Linked DNA regions of Homo sapiens: all the other regions are linked to region 1. Evidence: promoter capture Hi-C in human tissues and cell types (Jung and others, 2019). All regions are on one chromosome and are shown on one strand. Each heading gives the region's core, a stretch centred on a gene start or on the middle of the fragment in contact. The rest is flanking DNA. Distances are from core to core; before and after follow the strand shown. Region 1 holds the start of GNG11 (G protein subunit gamma 11). Region 2 overlaps LOC112267858 (a long non-coding RNA gene). Region 3 has its middle 130 kb from the start of COL1A2-AS1.

Region 1 (3,924 bases), core at 862-3,361:
CTTGAGGTTTCTGGAGGTGGGAAGTTGATGCCACAGGCCGTGTCCTAAAGGGTCAGGCTGGCTAGCAGGGAGAAACTGCTAATGAATGATACAGTCAATTTTTACATAGTCGGTTGCATCCACATCACTTAACTTAAAACTCTGAGTAAGTAGAAGACGCTTGTCTTTTTTCCTAAGTTCTACACAGTGATACCAAATATTAAGATATTAGAACCTTGCATAGACAATGCTGTACTTCAGCATATGAAACTCTGTTTAATATGTAACTCCTAAGGTTTATTGTGTGAACATATCTAAGTGGCCAGCACTTGCTGTACTGGGAACTTCGCCATCCATAAAATGGGTCCCTTAAGGTTTCAAGAAGCGTGCTTATTGATTGGGTAGTGTAACTTCCTTTTTTTCCCCTTTAAACGCGTTGGTGTTTTTAAAGCTACAAACCCTTAACATGATAGAAGGGACAGCTCATTATAAAAGCTAGGAAGAGCCGGGATTTGGATGTGAAAGGTTAAATTTGAGAAAAGAAATATGTAAAAAGTAAAACACAAAAATGCCTGCATCTTCTAATCATCACTCAACAGTGAAGACTCTTGCCCTTAACAGATTTATTATAACTAGAACAGGAAGGCAAGTGAGCATATTATAACGCTTCATTTCCATTGTTTTTCTTAATTTTTTCTAGTGCTAAACCATAATAAATAAGATCAGTTCAAAATTTTCTTGCTGAAGAGGAAAGGTTAATTATCTTTAAACAATATCTATTCAAAGACCTTTCCTAGTCTACAGGATGCCTGATTGAGTTAAAACAGGAAGAGGGATTAGTGTCTGAAGGAAGGTCTTGATGACCAGTAAGAAATTGAAGTAAAACTTATAAAACTCCCGAGACGTTTCAGTGGAGAATATTGAATACTGGGTCATATGTTCTCAATGAAATGGTAATCTCTATCAATAGTCTCTAAAACTTTAAAATTGTGATCACTAAAAAAATTTTTCATATGCACCACAGTGTATGTATAATTATTTATAAATAAGTACAGATACTACTGTATTAATCGCATACTAATAAAACATAAAGTGAAAATTATAAAGGGATGAGATTTACAAATAAATATAGAAATTCTAATATTTTGTTCCCAAATTTCGGTGGACTGTTCTTTGCATATCACTGAAGGCCACTGGTGAAATTCAAAATTAAATAATGTACTTGTAAGACTTTAAAATACGGTTTTAGAAAATTTCTTTCAAATATCATCCTTTCTAGTAGTGTAAAAGATCAAAGAACCAAGTAGCTATCCGCTTTTTTCCTACAAGTGAGTTTTGAAAAACAGCTGTCTAATGGAAAGCAAGATTTCTTGTCTATTTTCCCCTTCCTAGGCATCTTAAAAGTTAGGACATTTGGCCTTAAATTACTTATCAGATCCTTGCTCCCTCCTCTACCTCCTAGGATTTCCCCACATCAGCTGGCAGTCCCCAGGCACTGCCAAAGGGTGGTGAGAAGAGAAGCTACAAAAAGGGGGAAAAATAAGCTAAACTATTTGCTTTACTGTTACTAAGCAGGAAAAATCGGACCCTGCTTCATTTCAGAGAAGGAAATATTCCGGAACAGCCAACTTACTTGTTGTCTCTGCAACTTCACTTCTTTGCGAAGCTGCTCAACTTCCATTTTCAGTTTTTCCTTCTCTGGCAAATCTTCGATGTGAAGGGCAGGCATTTTCGCCCCAGAACCGGGCTCGGGCTAGCTCTGGCAGCGGAGCCGCTGGAAGAGCGGCGAAGCTCGGCGCGTCCCGAAACAACTGAAGGCCTGGCCCGCCGCCCACCCGCGCAGGATGTGACTGCAGCCCTGCTGCGGTCCCCAGCTCCCCGAGGGCTTGGCTTTCTCCGGGACGCTTGTCACGCCAGCGTGCCCCAGCTTCCTAGGACCTGAGAACTCTGCCTTTTCTCAAGTCCCTGCAACCCAGGAGGCCTGCCCGGGTGCTAGATGAGGGTTAAGTTTGAGACTGGGTCCAAGCAGCTTCCCGCTGCTCAATCGCCCAGCAGGGATGCTGGCCACGGACAGGCCCTGACTCAGGACCTGCCACGCCCGCGGGGGACGGCTGGGCTGGGGCTGCAGGACTGGGAACAGCAGAAGTTTTACTTTGTGTTCTCCGCGCACCCCCGCTCCTTTTTTTTTTTCCGTTTCCAAGTCACATCCGGGTTTTGTTTGTGAAGCTAGGAAAAGGAGTACACTACCCAGCAGGAAATAACTACCCTTCACCTCTCAAAGAGTTTTAAAAATATGCTAGATATAGCTTTTCCCTAATTACATACATAGGTTGTTGCAAAAGTAATTACTTTTCTCTAATTACATATATAGGTTGGTGCAATTAGTTTTGCACCAACGTAATAAATGCATAGTGGAGAATGCGGACGCTTAAGAAAAGGCTGAAAAGAAAATGAAGCTTAGCCCTAATCCCAGAAATACCCACCAGTGTTCTGCTCATTTGTGTCCATCCGGCTTGTTCGAGGCCTAATATGGGTTTATACATTTTGGGCGAGGAGGGGGCAACAGGGTGTGAATATCGTTTACAAGTTGCAAGAACATTTTCTATTATTAAATAATCATCTGCATCCTCAACAGCAGCAGAGTTTGTATTTTTTTTATTTTTCCGGGGGAATGTTATGTAGAGGGGTGCATCAAAGGATGATATAAGAGAAGACAGAAGCAGGAATCTTAGAGTTCTTAACCGAAAGCCTTTCTCCACTCCCCAACCCTAAGTTTTGGGTGACACTTGACACCAAGGATTTTGAATTCCTGGCTCCTGAACCTTCCTGGATGTAGGCAGTGGATTCATTTAGTATTAGTTTCTCCACTTTCTGGCAAGCACTATTTATCTAGCTGTTGCTCTGGAAAGCCAGGAAAAGTGTCCGATGTGAAAAAAGTTTACATGCAATAAAACTTTCCCTTTAACTGTAACTAAAGTCTTGTTGATGGTGGTCAAAAGAGTAGAAGAAAAATCAAACATGAATGTAAGAAACCTTCCCTAGCAGTTGGATATTTCTCTTTCTTTCCAGAGATAACCTCCTGCCTCACAGAGTCAAAGGCAAGTGAAATATTAACTTAATATTTCAGAGTAGCTGACCCAAGACACCCATGACCATTCCCTGTTTAGGAAGCAGGAGTTTTTGTTCGTTCCTAGTTTCTTACCACGCTCCGCTCAACCTCAATGAATAAATTAGAATGAAAAAAACAATGAACCACTTAATGAATACTCCTGGCGTGTAGTTGCAGCTCTGCCACAGGCCATCACTGAAGAAGTCATTTAATTTTTCTTAGTTTTGGTTTTCTAATTTGTAAAATGTATAGTAAGGCAGGGAAGTAGTGAATCAGCTAAGCTATGTTGTGTCTCTAATTGTGTTGGTATGTCTATATATGATAAATCATTTTCACAAAGAAAATGTTTAAGAGCTTCACTTTCAATATTTGAAATACCAGGGTTTTCCAAGCTCAGAGTAGTTAGAGCATCTACTGAAGTTTACTTGTAAATAAGCAGGGAGACTAGACAAATGTCCATATCTGTCTTGTGCACTAATTCATTTTTAAAATTTTCTATTACTTAAATTTAAAAGGTTGGTCAAAAATACCTTAAATTAGTGAAAGTAATCAACGTGAATGTGGCCTAAATTAAATAGGTTCAGCACCTAAGTTAAATAAATTGGTTAAATAAATTATTGTGTTTTTGTTCTTTTTTTTGTTTTTTTGTTTTTTTGTTTTTTTTTTTTTGAGACGGAGTCTCGCTCTGTCGCCCAGGCTGGAGTGACTGGCACGATCTCCGCTCACTGCAAGCTCCGCCTCCCGGGTTCACGCCATTCTCCCGCCTGAGCCTCCGGAGGAGCTGGGACTACAGGCGCCCGCTACCACGCCTGACTAATTTTTTGTTAATGTGTGTT
Region 2 (3,924 bases), core at 552-3,051, 360 kb before region 1:
AGTGAGTAGAGGAGAGAAAGAAAAGAGAGGAAGCAGAGACAGCAAGTATAGATAATTATTTCTAGTGTTGTAGTGTCAAGGAGGTAGAGAAGTCAGGCAGTTAGTGGCTGGAGGAATGGGAGATCCCAAATTCATTTGCATGGTGATGGACTGACCCAGTAGAAATGGAAAATGTCATGACATGTATGAGACAAAGGACAACTGCAGCAGCAGTGTCCTTCAATAGGTAAGAAAAGGGTTGTCCTTAGGAGCACTGACCACTGATCCATTTTAATTGTGGGGAATGCAGAGTAGGTGGGCCCACATGCTAATATCTTGGTAGATTTGGTAGTAAAAATGGTGGTAGTGGTTGTGGAAATTCTCGCTTTTTTTTTCTTTTTTCCAGAGTGAAGTAAAAAGCCAGTCCAGCTGAGAGTGAGAGACAGGGAAAAGGCTTAGAGGTTTGGGGAGAGAACAGAAAGAGTGAAATAATGATCTAGGAAGAGAGATAATTCATCTTCCTTGTATTCTTCTATTTCTTTTCAATTCTATCTTTCCCACTGGAACTCCCTTCACTGAACTTCCAGCAGAGGCTTTTCCCCAGAGAAGGGTCTTGAAAAATGTTGACTGCATTAATTAATTGGAAGCTCTTCTCTTTCAAATCTGGGCATGGGGGACGGTCAGCGGTTCAAGGCTGTTTCAAAGGCTTTGGATAATTAGACTACTCTCCCTTGTAAAATTTACCCACAACCCTTTCCATCTTTCTGTATTTTAAACTAGTAATTTAGCACGCTTGCATCTGAGCCACATTTTGCAAAAATATGTTTCTGTTGACATCAGATAAGAGTTGAGTTGTGAAATACATCTCTTTAAAGGATTAACTACGCTTCCAAAAAGGCTCTTTGTTGTGAGATTTGCTAACAGATGGGAAATTCTAGGCTCTGGGTGTTAACAGTATTCTTGTGATTGCAGAAAAATAGCTTCATTTTGTGTAAGCAAAATGAACATATACATGTGAAACATGATGACATTGTAAGTAAATATGCAAATAAGAATAGAAAAACATAGTTAAGTTGCTTATGGAGTAGAGAAATGAAAATGGAAAAAGGTTGTTTGTTAATTAACCAGAGCATGCCTAGAAAATATTCTCTCTACCATTTGCCTTCCCAGCATGGTTTCAGGAGCTGGGCTGGCAGAAGAAGTATTTGATACAGCCCTAACTCTCAAATGTGATACAGTTTTGGAGAGAAGCCGTCCTTGTTTTAAAGCATTGGAAAAGTGCTAATATAAGGTGTGGCAGCAATTCTGAAAGCAGTAGAAATCTAGTTTAGACTGAAGCAGTTAGGAAAGGCTTCCTGGAGGAGGCAGGCCTTATGCATTGGCAAACTCTTATTTCTTTGAGTGTAACTTGTGTTTGAAGGGCTTGCTTTGATAAAGTGGAAACTCTCTGGCTTTAAACTTCTATTACACTGGGCTTTCTCTCTAATTAATTTTTTATGGGTATAAATTATATCCCTTCAACTGCCGTGTTTGTTATTCAACAGACATGTTTAGAGCCTACTAAGTGGCCTGGCGCTATGGGTGCCCTTGTGAACTATTTGGTGTCTGCCTTTGAGAAAAATCATAGTATAATAGACAGAGGTTAGCTGGTATGCTTCCTTTTTTTTTTTTTTTTTGCTTTTAACCCAACTATAGTAAAAATTTCCACTTCTTGCTAAGCTATATATCAATTTTTTCCTCTCTTCAAGAAAAACGTCTTTTTAGGTTGATATATGGAAGATACTGGCAAAAATCACTTGGCCAGTAAGGCTCCTGAGGTACTGCTTGGTGGGGAAAGTTGAGGAATTATAAGGAGCATCTGTGGGGTGTGCACAGGAAGAGCCTATTTTAAGTTTACTGTCTAAGTAGGAGATGAATTTCCTTCCAGAAAGGGCTTCTCCTCCGCCTTCCACTGTAGAAGATGCTGATTGTTGAGAAGCTTCACTTGCAGCAGATTCTGGGCTCTTAGGTATAGAAGAACAAGGGATGACTGCTCCTTTTCATTTAGCACATATTTATCAGTCACCTACTATGTGCAAGGCACTAAGACAGATGTGGAGGATGCACAACAATGGCACAGGGTCTGCCCTCCACAAGCTTATATAGGTTGAGTATCCCTTATCTGAAATGCTTGGGACCAGGAGTGTTTGGGATTTCAAATTCTTTAGAATTTTAAAATATTTGCATATACCTAATGAAATGCCTTAGAAATGGGACCCAAGTCTAAACACGAAATTCATCTATGTTTCTTATGCACCTTATATACAGAGCCTGGAAGTAATCTTATGTAATATTTCAAAATAAATTTGTGCATGAAACAAGGTTTGGATTGCATTTTGATTTCAACTTATCACATAAGACCAAGTGTGGAATTTTCCACTGTGGTATCATGTTAGTGCTCAAAATGTTTTGGATTTTGGAGCATTTTGGATTTCAAATTTTTTTTTTATTAGAGATTCTCAACCTGTATTCTATTACAGACAATAAGTAAATAGAGAGATACATAAATAGCTCGTGTACTGATTATTGTTATGAAGAAAAACAAGCTGTGTAAAGCAGAGTAAGGGGGAATGAGAGAGAAAAGGAGAAGCAGTGCTATTTTGGATTGAGAAATCCACTCTGATGATGTGAAATTTGCACAGAGACATGAAGAAAGCAAGGAAATGAGGAGCATGTGGGTCAAGGAAGAAGCTCATTCCAGGAAAGCAAGAGACTTAATGAAGGCTAGGAACTTAGGCACTGTCCAACCGGCAGGTGCACAGATGACCCTCTGTAGGAGGCTGGCATGGCTAGTGGCTGATGGTGTGGCTGGAAGGGACAGCGGGGAGGGGGTGGCAGCAGCAACGTGTAATGTGGGACTCACAGAGGCACAGTACGAACCAGCCAGATGTCTCTTCTTAGCCATGCTGGCCGAATATCCCCTGCCTCATGGCGAGGACTTGATCTCTTACAGAGTTCTGACTCTGTTATCTCAAAAAGCCCTCTTGTCATTTTCAGGAAGTCCTGAGGTTGTTACTGCCTCTTGCTTATAAAAACCTTTACAGCTTCTTTTAGGGCACTTGGGAGAGTATCTCTTTCCTTCCCATGTCCCTTAGAGTCATGGAGAAACCAGTTCCTGCCACCTCCCAAGCTCATCTTGGACTGGGGTCACCCTCTCTTCCTCCGTTGCATTTCCTTCACCATGGCAATTTCCTCTGATTCCTCCTTTTTCTTCCTGATGCTTTTCAGACCCTCCTCATCAGCAAACCACATGGCTTGTTTCTGCTTCTGCTCCTGCTATAGGTCCTAATATTGGCACCCTTGACTCAGAAAGATCTTCCCAGGCCACCTAATACAAAAGTAGTTGCACCCTTCTCAACATTACCCTGCTTCCTTCATATCTCTTAATATTAACTTTCTTAATATTAATTTTCTTCATATTCACAAAATCTCAAAGGATCTCATATTTAATTGTTTATTAGATCTTGGCTTGTGTGATCAGGGACTTGCCTTGTTCACTGTTGTTCCCCTGAGGATCTGTCAGGATGCCTGCCATATGGGAGGAATCCTACATTAACTATAAATATTGGTGCATGAGAGAAAGAATATAGATGCCCTAAGTTTAACAGGTCCCAGAAAATGATCACAGTAAGGATTCTGGAGGGTAAAACTAAGTAAGCAGTTTCCTTAAAAAATCCTACCTTAACAAGGCTTACTTCTGTCTGGATGCTACATTATATCTTCCAAGTTTGATCCATTGACCCCTTTTTATTCCAATAGAGAGACTAATCTGGTTCAGACTATTTTCATTTTAATGTCTACCCCTAGTGTGTCTGAATGAATTAATACAGACCCAGCGTGGAACTGCTTGGAGAAACGGTACTGGCATTTTGAAACTGCAAGACTCTGATTTTGTTTAAACGATGC
Region 3 (3,924 bases), core at 776-3,275, 340 kb before region 1:
AATAAGCCAGGGGAGTTTTGTTCGTGGGTTTATTAAAAGAAATAAGATTAGTGACTTAGATAAGTTAACTGAATTCATTAAACTAAATTATTTTCCATAGTTCCTCAAGTCTTCTGCATTTTCAGAACAGTGCATTTTGCTTTTAAAATAAACGACATAATACTAATTATGTATTCTGAATTTTAGGAAAAGTTGAAACTCTACCTAATTCAACCTTATTATATATTGTGAAAGTTACCATACAAAATCCACTGAGCCACATAGGGTTCGATGACATGGTAGGTCGATAGCAAAAAGATTAAAATAATACACATTTTGCTCTCATTCCCAGCACCATGACCTCACATTAACTGCATGTCTTCCAGGCATTGCAATACCAGTCACTGGCCTTTGGTTGCTGTGCACTGACCTTTCAGGGGCTGTGGTGATGGTGATGCTGTAAGCCCATGTCTTTTCCAACTTTGTCCCCATTATCACTCTTTGTGTTTCCCTGGCTTAACATATTGAATGAGAAAAGAGAACATGATTGGATGGCTGAAAGAAATCACACCTTCCAATTTCCCCTGAGAAGCCTCTTGGGACATGGAGAGAGCAATTCTGCTTTTTAATATGCATTTTTCATAAATGCCTCAGAAATGAGTGCTGTCTCTGAATCACTAAAGCCAATTACATCAATTTATCATAAAATGTTCTAAAATGCATCTCTTCTCTTACAGAAACACAAAGGAACATATCCCAAATGTATAGTATAAAAGGCTCTCCCATAGTGGAGTTGCTTAGAATTAAGAGCTACATAAATTGAATTTCAAATCAAATGGGCCTATTAGTATAATAATTGTTCAAAATGGGATTCTAGGTCTCAGGTTGTCAAGGCTGCAGTATGTTTACAAGGTCTGAGCTTGTCCTTGACATTTTGACTATTGTTTTCTTTTAGGGTATCCAAGACATGTTATATAAATTCATGTTATATAAATTCATGTCTATTTTACTCAGATTTTAACAATTTAACAAATACTTCTAATGTGGTCATTTTACTCAGACTGCTTAGCCTCGTATTAAATATTGCAAAACTGATATTTACTGAGAAGAGTTTGGATCATTTGTGGAACTTTTTGGGAGAAGAGAGGCTTGAATAAACTAAGTTCAACTTAAGTAGAAAACCCACAAAAGTAAGGCACTTTGTTTATTAGTTTTTTACATCAAATTTTCTATTAAAGAAAATAGTTGGGTGGAATTCCATTTTAAGCAAACAGCGTCATTTTTGATAGCAGTCTCAGGAGAATGAATCAGTGGGTTTCTTTGAGCAATTGGTTTGTTTTTTTCTAGCAGATTCTCAGTATTTTATAACAGATGCTTCCCTCTGCATTTTATCTGCTAGAAAGATTCACGCCATACACATAGTTCACATTTTGCAAGTTTATCAGACTTTATAGCAAGTATTTTGTATACTAATATCACTCCTAATTCTATCTTTTCTTATTTAACTTTATTCGATTCATCTCACTTATAACAAATATATTCTACTTTGCTGCATTATATCTTTTTTGAATTTTCTTAAGTATTTTTCTTGAAATAAGGTATAGTACAAATAAATACTATTCATAATACTGTTTGTGTGATTAATGAAAGCATAGGAAATGATAAATATTAATATTCAAAAGCCAAGTGCCATTAGGTAATCCTCAAATAAATTACTTCAAGCTGCAGTTTAGAAACAAAATCCTGCTAGTTTTTTGTTCAATTAATTCTAAAGTGTATGTAAGTCCTAGCTACACAAGGCTGGGAGAAGAGATGGGAATCCTATTTGTTTTTAAAAAACCTACATACAAAAGAGTGGGGATTTAGTCTGCTTCAGACTGTGCCTGGTAGCTGTTTAATTTTTCCTATTGGCAATTGCTGCATTTGAAGATTATGGAGCCAGGCCAAGGTTGATAACGAATAATTTTCACCAGTCCAGTCATATCAGTTGTTAAACTATTGAAATGCTTTCATGAGAAGTATTTAGTAGAGAAGACTTTCCTTACACCCCCTTAGACTAGCAGTTACCTCCTAGTCATTCTGGCCATCCTGGCCATCTTAAATTCCTTGGCCTCACCTACAAACTGTCAACTTGACACCATAAATGGCCTCTAGTACCCTCCTTCATTCTGATTGGTTAGTATCTCAAAGTAATAATTTCTAACTTTTTGAATATTACCTGTGGGTTAAGTCTACACATGCAAACAAGGTAGAATCTTGCAAAACCAACTGGTAAATTAGAAGGCCAAAATGGTAAAACAAAAAAAATCCAGGCTCTCTCTACTAAAAAAAAAAGGGCTGAAGGTGGGAGGAGACATTTAAAATGATTTTGGATAAAACCGGCAACGAATCAATGAGCCAGTTAGTAAAGCATTTTTGAGTTTTTTATTATGTCTTTACATGCTAGGCATTTTAGAAACTATAAAGAAGTGTAATACCTGGTTGTGGAAGTGACAATATCCCTGTGACAAGATGATTGCCAATCCAGGCAAGGAATATGTTGTATAGACGTCAGAGGATAGAGAGAACATGGATTGAGTATAATTAAGTAGACTTATTGAAGGAGGTAGGACGTGAGCCGAGTCTTAAAGAATGAGAAAGATTCACGAAGGTGAAGATAAACAAAGTTAATTTTATTCTTTTGTAGATAAAATTATCCTTAGGGTGCTGTGCCACAGTCTTAATAGAAAGAGCCAAATATTCAGAGTCAGATTTGAGTCTGCACCTCAACCTTGCCACTCACTAGATGTAGAATTTTTGGAAAGTCACTCAATCCTTCTGAACCTCAGCTCAGCATTGTTGTGAGGATGGAACAATATTGTTGATTGTAATGCCATTAGTAATAATAAGCTTACCTACATGATCGTCTATGTCACATCCCTATCAGATTAAGAACTCCTGTGATTGTTTTTGGCCTGTGCCCTTGTGTGAGACCAACTCCAAGTTCATGGACATGTGGGTGTCCTGAGTGTTCCTGGTGGCCTAATGTTTTAGGGAAAACAGTGGCCTAGAAGTTTTAGGCAATGTTACTGGTGGTCTAGAACTTTTAGGGAAAACAGTAATTGCTCTTCAGAAGGTCAATTTTAGGCTGGCTTTGAATTCATCAGCTAATCACACAAGATTCCATTTTTTGCTTAAATAAACAGATGTAACTAGTGACCCATGTTCTTAAAAAATTTGTTCAGATACTAATTAAATTCCTTCCTTTTGCTCGTAGCTATGCTCCTGTTTAGGTATGCAGACCTGACTTCTTGACTGCAGATCCCCCAAAACCAGAATTGGGTGCTCTGAACATGCTCAAGAGAAAGTCAAATTTGAAACCCATTGTGTTAAAACCTGTTGTAAGGAAAAAAAAAAAAAAAACTACAAAGAACTGTATTTTGTCATCGTAATTACAGAGATGTAGAAAAACGTGTTTTCTACAAGATGCAAAAATATGTGAGACCTCTTTATAACACATGGTATGTTAAGAAACAGCTGTTCAGCTACGACATTAAAATGCTGGTTCTTGAGATGGGTCTTGTCTTATTTGCATTTGTAAGTATGTATTGGGTGGAGAATCTGGATAAAATATCACAGAACTTTAGGCTCTGGGATTTGAGTTAAACTTTAACTCTTTTGCATTGTGTTTGGTTTTCTTCTTTGTCCCATTGGTTTCTGACTGAATATGAAAACAGAAACTTCCCAAGAGGTTTTGAGGGAGTAGGAATACTTCTCAAAATTGAAATAAAAATCTCATCATGGGCACATATTCTCAACTGCTTCCAGGGAACAACAGCAGTTAGAGAAGGATTTTAAAAGATAGGAGAAAAAAGGAGTGACAAGATGGGGAGATGTATAATTTTTTTCCTTTCCTTTATTATAACTAGTTGTTTTTGGTGCAGAAGGTTGTTGTTTGTGGAGCTG

What was found. The method cuts DNA at HindIII sites, captures the fragments that hold promoters and counts their contacts. A contact is called where the count stands out against the background at its distance.
Region 2: a fragment that was not itself captured here is called in contact with the fragment with the promoter of GNG11 in region 1 in 1 of the 25 tissues and cell types used here (mesendoderm cells).
Region 3: a fragment that was not itself captured here is called in contact with the fragment with the promoter of GNG11 in region 1 in 1 of the 25 tissues and cell types used here (H1 embryonic stem cells).

The regions. Positions count from the first base shown.
Region 1 is chr7:93,919,922-93,923,845 of GRCh38, reverse strand. It overlaps GNG11 (G protein subunit gamma 11), which reads right to left and starts at 2,111. Exons shown (of 2, transcript NM_004126.4): 1 at 1,613-2,111. The coding sequence starts at 1,708. All of the region lies in intron 1 of LOC105375402 (a long non-coding RNA gene), which reads left to right. RefSeq lists an enhancer at 1,874-2,509. The HindIII fragment of the contact is 9,220 bases long and covers 1-3,924 here.
Region 2 is chr7:94,281,254-94,285,177 of GRCh38, reverse strand. All of the region lies in intron 2 of LOC112267858 (a long non-coding RNA gene), which reads left to right. Among named protein-coding and RNA genes, the nearest start is that of COL1A2-AS1, 110 kb to the left of the region's middle. The HindIII fragment of the contact is 3,966 bases long and covers 1-3,784 here.
Region 3 is chr7:94,261,571-94,265,494 of GRCh38, reverse strand. No RefSeq gene overlaps it. Among named protein-coding and RNA genes, the nearest start is that of COL1A2-AS1, 130 kb to the left of the region's middle. The HindIII fragment of the contact is 7,264 bases long and covers 1-3,924 here.